2 separate regions of the Homo sapiens genome follow, and region 2 is linked to region 1. The links are contacts of gene promoters, found by promoter capture Hi-C in blood cells and fetal thymus (Javierre and others, 2016). All regions are on one chromosome and are shown on one strand. Each heading gives the region's core, a stretch centred on a gene start or on the middle of the fragment in contact. The rest is flanking DNA. Distances are from core to core; before and after follow the strand shown.

Region 1 (3,416 bases), core at 587-3,086:
AGATACGCATTTATCTCAGTGAGCGGAGAAGTGACTGTGAATAGAATGTGAGGCAGGTTTGCCCTAAGCAGTTTCCAACTTGACTTTTCTTTTAGCTTAGTAATTGTAGGACCCCAAGATTTATCTTCCTTTCGCAGGTTGGAAGGAAAGAGATGCCACACTACCTTTCATGAACTAATGTCCAAATCATACATCATCACTTCTGTGTTTTTCAGTTTATTATGAGCAAATGAAGTCACTAAGTCCAGTACATACTCGACAAGAGGGAATACACAAGAGTGAGAATACCAGGAGTAAGAAATCACTGGGAGTCATCTTGAAGGCTGGCTAGCAATCACAGTTTGCCCCCTGACTACCAATTCTTCATGCCATTTTAACGTGCTAACCACACTCCCCTCTATCCAAGGTCCCCAAAAGTTACATTTTTTTAAATCTCATGTAGTTTTAGGTATTACTATCCTATTGTCACATCAGCTTTAAGTCCAGAATTTTGTCTTCTCAATAAGATCAGATGTAGATGAGGCTTTCTGAGCTTAGTTCCTTAAATTCAGCTCCTAGAGTACAATTCTTCTTGATCTGTAGACTTTTGAAACTAAGGAGACAAGTTCTCTGCCCCCATGCCTGGAATATACAGTTGTGGGGCTGGCACAGGATAATCACTACAGACCTGTTCTGCTCCACTACGACTAGATTAGCCACTGCCACTCCTGTTCAAAAAGGGGGAAATTGGAAGTACAAACAAGTTGCCAGCCCACAGTAACTCTGCCATCCAGTCTCAAGGTCTAGGACTCCATGACTCCCAGTTCCACCATCTGGGCTCCTGGTTTCATGCCCTGAGTTATACTTCCTTTTTTGTGAAATGTGGCATGTGTTTGCCAATGAGTCTTTTTCTCAGTCTGATTCCTGCTTGTACAAGTTTGGGGAGAGGGGATCCAAAGGCCTGTTCCTTTCAGTCCAATCTGCAATGTTTGTGTCAATATAATTATCTTTAAAAAACTTTATAGGTCTCCTGTGAATCTCATCGGGGTTCACTCCGTTAAACAAAAGTGCTACCTACAAATCCCTTTGAGATAAGTCCATCTCTATCTTGGGCTTCTGCTAATACTGACGAACAAGCCTTAAGCCTTCTGGAGGCCTTGTGGTTTGACTGATGGACTCTGTGAGCCACACCATTAATCTCTTTAAGGAGCTGTTAGTCTAACTGAATGGTATTCTCAGGCACCGTCTTTGCTTTTTTTTTTGAGATTTTAAAGGATTTAACCGTCACATCTCAACTTCACCTTTGTTTTTTTCTGGCAGTACCCTGGATTTGATATTTGCTTGGAAACTATTACTATTTCTTAGTTTTACGCCATTTGCAATCAGGCGAAGCTGAGGACTTTAAAAATCATCCAAAGTCGTCAAGGTCCATCCCTTTTGTGTTTCGTCTTGCTTATCTCATTTATTTTACTATAAACAGCAAAAAGAAATGAAGGACAGGAGGGAGACGTTCATGGGTGCTGGACATGTCCTACCTGTTGGTCTGGATAGAAGATGCATGGTTGTATGGATGTGTACAAAGTCATCAATGTGCACACTTAAAATGTATGCACTGTATTGTATTCCTGCTATACCTTCGCTTAAAAAAGAAAAAAAAGGTTGAATGTGAGTTCGGGCGTGAGAAAACAGCAGCGCGCATGCGTGAGCGTGAGCGCGCATGCGTGAGCGTGAGCGCGCTGGGAGGCCGGAAACAAAGGTGGATGCGCGTGAACAGACGCCCTCGCAGGCCGCCGGAAGCAAAGGCGTGAGCGCGCGTGCGTGCGTGTGCGGGTGCGTGAGCGTGAGCGCGCGGAGGCCGGAAGCGAGCGCTGCGCAGTCGGGTGGTCGCGGGCCATGGAGGGTAGCTTTTCGGATGGCGGAGCGCTGCCGGAGGGGCTCGCGGAAGAGGCCGAGCCGCAGGGCGCCGCCTGGAGCGGGGACAGTGGCACTGTTTCCCAGAGCCACAGCAGCGCCTCGGGGCCGTGGGAGGACGAGGGCGCGGAGGACGGCGCGCCGGGCCGCGACCTGCCGCTGCTTCGCCGCGCCGCTGCGGGCTACGCCGCCTGCCTGCTGCCCGGGGCCGGGGCGCGGCCCGAGGTCGAGGCCCTGGACGCGAGCCTAGAGGACCTGCTTACCAGAGTGGACGAGTTCGTGGGCATGCTGGACATGCTTCGCGGCGACTCGTCCCACGTCGTCAGCGAGGGCGTGCCGCGCATCCACGCGAAGGCCGCCGAGATGCGGCGCATCTACAGCAGGATCGACCGGCTGGAGGCCTTCGTGAGGATGGTGGGGGGCCGCGTGGCCAGGATGGAGGAGCAGGTCACCAAGGCCGAGGCCGAGCTGGGCACCTTCCCCAGGGCGTTCAAGAAGCTCCTGCACACGATGAACGTGCCCTCGCTCTTTAGCAAGTCTGCTCCCTCGAGGCCACAGCAAGCCGGCTACGAAGCCCCCGTCCTGTTTCGGACCGAAGACTACTTCCCTTGTTGCAGTGAAAGGCCTCAGCTCTGACGGCCTGACCACTGCGGCAAGAGGACCCCAGCTGGGGTGCTTACCTCCAGTATGAAGTGAATTGCAAATCCTGCTTATGGACATATATGATGTTGGAGTGTGGGATTTTAAAGTTTACTTTCTACAAACTCTCCGTAGTATATTCATGATTCAGTGTAGAATGTATAGACTTTATGTCTTCCAAGTTTAAAAAAAGAGACAGGGTCTTGGTATGTTGCCCAGACTGTTCGGAAACTCCTGGGCTCAAGTGATCCTTCCACCTCAGCCTCCCCAGTAGCTGGGACTACGGGGTCGCCACTGCACCCAGCCTGTGTCTTCCAGCTCTAATCAGAAAGCTGCTTGTCGAGGGCATGGGGAATCAAACTGAATGAACTTTTCTCTGCACTGTGGCAAAACTGTTATTTTTATGGATTTTACTAAATGGCGTTACCTTTTCAAGATTTATATGTTTGTATAATCATAAGAAAATTGAGCCATTAAAGCCTTGTTATTCAATCCTAATAGTCAGTTTTCTAGAACCTACTTTTAGGGTAAATGGTACATTATTTAATATTATATTAAACCTCCTATAGCGTGGATTGTAGACCAAAGGAAATGGTACAATTTCTGAGAATATATGTTGATTTTTTGTGACTAATTCCAAAGTTGTATTTGAAAGTATGACCTCACAGTCTTCATTTGTCCATAGCAAACATATGTGTGTGTGTGTGTATATATATATGTGGGTTGCCAATGTTTGGTTTATAATTTAAATGTTAATAGAAATTTTGAGTTTTATTGGAAATGATTTCCTTCTGAAAAGAGCTTTACGTATTTCCTTGTGTGTGTTTGAAATAGACGTACTGCTCATGTGCTTTTTTAGTAGTGGGATAAAGAAAAGGGGCTTGAGT
Region 2 (3,108 bases), core at 609-3,108, 53 kb before region 1:
TGGTCTTATTTTTTGTTTTTGGAATTTCTCAATAGTTTTAACTTTTCCTGCTTCTGTGCATTTTGCTATGTCACATGGGACCTAATCACTGTTGGACACTTTGGGACAAGCAGGAAACTTGTGTCAGTCCTCAAACCACAGAGTTGTTGAAGGAGCTCCACCTGTTCCATTGGAAGATGCCCCTGGGAAATGAGGTGGAAGACAGTTTTGTATGCAGTTTAGAACTTTCTCTGTGAGAACAGATGAGATTTTTCCTCTTAAGTTAAATCATGTCATTTGGTGCACATTGTGTGACTTCGCAGGTCAGTTTGGACAACTAGCTACGTCTAATTTGACTTGAAACCTACATATGATGGAGTGCTTTCTTGTGTTTTGTCTGTGGTTTGACTTAGGGTCAGCTTCCTTGAAGGATCTCCCTAGTGCATTTCAGGCCCTGTGGGGCGTAGAAGAAGAGAAGTCTGAAAAGGGCCTTGAAGATCTCTGGGAAGCAATCGTGGTGCTGGCGCTTTGGTCTTCCTTCACGGGGTCATAACCTACCTGGTTAGGCCCATTTGAATAGACCCCACAGGGATTTGAGGTTAAAATACCATATGTGGCTGGGTGTGGTGGCTCATGCCTGTAATCCCAGCACTTTGGGAGACCAAGGTGGGAGAATTCCTTGAGTCTAGGAGTTTGAGACCAGCTGGAGAAACATGGTGAGACCCCCCACTCTACAAAAAAAAAAAAAAAAATTAGCCAGGCATGGTGGCACTCACCTGTATCCCAGCTACTCAGGAGGCTGAGGCAGGAGGATCGCTTGTGCCTGGGAGGTTGAGGCTGCAATGAGCTGAGATCATGTCACTGCACTCCAGCCTGTGGGTGACAGAGCAAGACCTTGTCTCAGAAAACAAAACAACAAAACAAAAACAGCACACCCACATGTAATAATGGTTGTTGCTTGTAAAAATGTAAAACCTAAAAACCTATTTTTATCCAAATGAACCAAAGCCCTTAAACTTCACCAGGAAAAAGAAAATAAAACATGTTTCTGAAGATCACAGTGTCTGTCTCATTGTCCTCAAATGCAGTAAACTGCGGGTTATAATGCATTCAGTGAAGCTGCAATTGGAAGAACAGATAATCCCCAGGCATGGAAATGAGGTTGGAGTAAGAGAGAAACTGGCACACTTCAGGCCCTAGGTACCTGTGTTCAAAAGCACTGGCTACACGATGCGCCCAGACCCTGGAGGAGGAATACAGACATGAGACCTGGTGGTAAAGACAACAAAATAATTCAAAGACAGCGTGCCAGGTGTCACACATGCAGGCAGTAACTCTATTGAGGGGCATCTTATATGCCAGCTATTGTTCTAAAATAGAACAGTGTTACCGCCCTGATGAAGCTTACATTTTAGAGCAGGGAACCTTCAGAAAACATATAAATATGTCCTGTGGTGACATGTTTGGTGGGTAACAAAAGGCACTGTACTGCTGGTAGACATGTAAGATGTAGGAGGAAGGTGGAGTAAGGATGAGGTGGCCCAGACTGCAGCTGAATCTCCGGTCCACTGCCGACTGACTCACTTTGTAATGTTTCGCAAGTCTCTTCACCTCACTTTACCCCTTCTATAAAATGGGTATACTCAAGAGTAGCTACCTCATGGGGATATCAGGAAAATTAAATGAGTTGATATTATGTCAGTGGGCCACAGTTGGCTGATCCCTGGGTAGATTTCTGTTGCAGCAAAGCATTCTCTGAAATGTCATTTAGTTAGGAAGGTTATTAGTGAGTGCTCTTAGGATCCACCCCTGTGGGAGGGAAGGAAAAGAACCAGGATGGGGCGAAGGAGAAGTCTAGCTATGATGAAGGTTCAGCAGACGCTTCAGCCAACTCTCTAGGGAGTTCTGAAGACGGTGTGACAGGCAGCCTCTAAGATGGGCCTCAGCAATCCCTGCCACCTGGCATTCAGGTCTTTGTAGAATCTCTGTTTTGAGAGTGGGCCAGAGTTATTGACTTGCTTCTAGTGGAGAATTCTGCAGAAGCGGTGGGATGTCCTGGCTTCCACCGTGTACGCCCTCTCTCCCTCTCAGCATTGCTCAGCCCGGGTATAGCAGACACCGTGCTGTGAAGCAACCCAGTGTAAAGGCTGTGCGGTTTGGGACCAAGGACTGGCAACAATCACAGGCTTGATTTTCGAAAAGGTCGCCCCTCACCATCCCAGTTGAGCTTTCAAACTACAGTAGCCCAGCCAACATCTTGACTGCAACCTCCAGAGACCTTGAGCCAGAGGCACCCAGCTAAGCCCTGCGCAGCTCCCTGACCCATGGAAACTGTAAGGTAATAAATGTTTGTTTTAAGCTTTTAAGTTTTGCGAAAATGTGTTATGCAGCAATGGGTAACTAGGACGGTTTGATGGCTCTTCAGAGCCCTCCCCACGTTGGGGTGAGAGGACTGGGCTTTCTACCTCTGCAGAGATCAATCACCAAATGCAGCTGCCCCAGGAAGGATGGGGTGACAATCTCTGAAGATGGCTGCTGGCTTGGGGCTGTCTCAGCAGCTGGAATAAGACCTTCATTCCTAAAGGGCAGTCTGAGCCATGTGTCCTCCATAGCTGCCAACGTTCTGAGGCTCTAGACTGTCGCCTGCTCAAGTTCACCAAGGTTTGTAGACACCGTTAGAGCCAAGGCTAGCTTGAACGCTCCTATGCTTGGGTTACCTGCTTATTCTTTTTCCTATTTGGCCTCTAAGGAGTCCGTATTTTTTTCTTCCAGCTCAAGTCCCGGAAAGCAGCCGCGCGTGGGACAGTCGCCCTGGCCGCTGGCCGCCGGGCCCCACGGCGCCGTCCGTCCCCGGCCCCAAGCCTCCCTGAGCCTGCGGCCGGGGTTCCCTCCTGGCCGACCCTGGGCCTGGAGCGAGGGGGCGCGGACATGCGGAAGGGGACCGCGAGGCGGGTGCGCCCGGGACCCTGGGTTCCGGGTCCTGCGTGCCGTGCTCGTCCAGAGCCGGGAATGTTCGCCTCCGGGTGGGGCCCTGAAGCCATAGCGGGGGTCGCCCCCCTGTCGCCTCCTGAGGGCGCGCGCCTCGTGACAGGGGCCTTGACCTGGTAAAGCCAGAGCTCGGGGAGCTCC

What was found. Contacts are between HindIII fragments. The CHiCAGO score rates a contact against its expected background, and 5 or more counts as called.
Region 2: a fragment that was not itself captured here is called in contact with the fragment with the promoter of BLOC1S4 in region 1 in 7 of 17 cell types (naive CD8 T cells, naive CD4 T cells, fetal thymus and 4 more); the score reaches 11.2 in naive CD8 T cells.

What each region holds. Positions count from the first base shown.
Region 1 is chr4:6,714,338-6,717,753 of GRCh38, forward strand. It overlaps BLOC1S4 (biogenesis of lysosomal organelles complex 1 subunit 4), which reads left to right and starts at 1,837. Exons shown (of 1, transcript NM_018366.3): 1 at 1,837-3,327. The coding sequence starts at 1,873. The coding sequence ends at 2,526. RefSeq lists enhancers at 1,557-1,756, 2,239-2,878 and a silencer at 2,037-2,086. The HindIII fragment of the contact is 17,705 bases long and covers 1-3,416 here.
Region 2 is chr4:6,661,185-6,664,292 of GRCh38, forward strand. No RefSeq gene overlaps it. Among named protein-coding and RNA genes, the nearest start is that of LINC02482, 11 kb to the right of the region's middle. The HindIII fragment of the contact is 956 bases long and covers 1,381-2,336 here.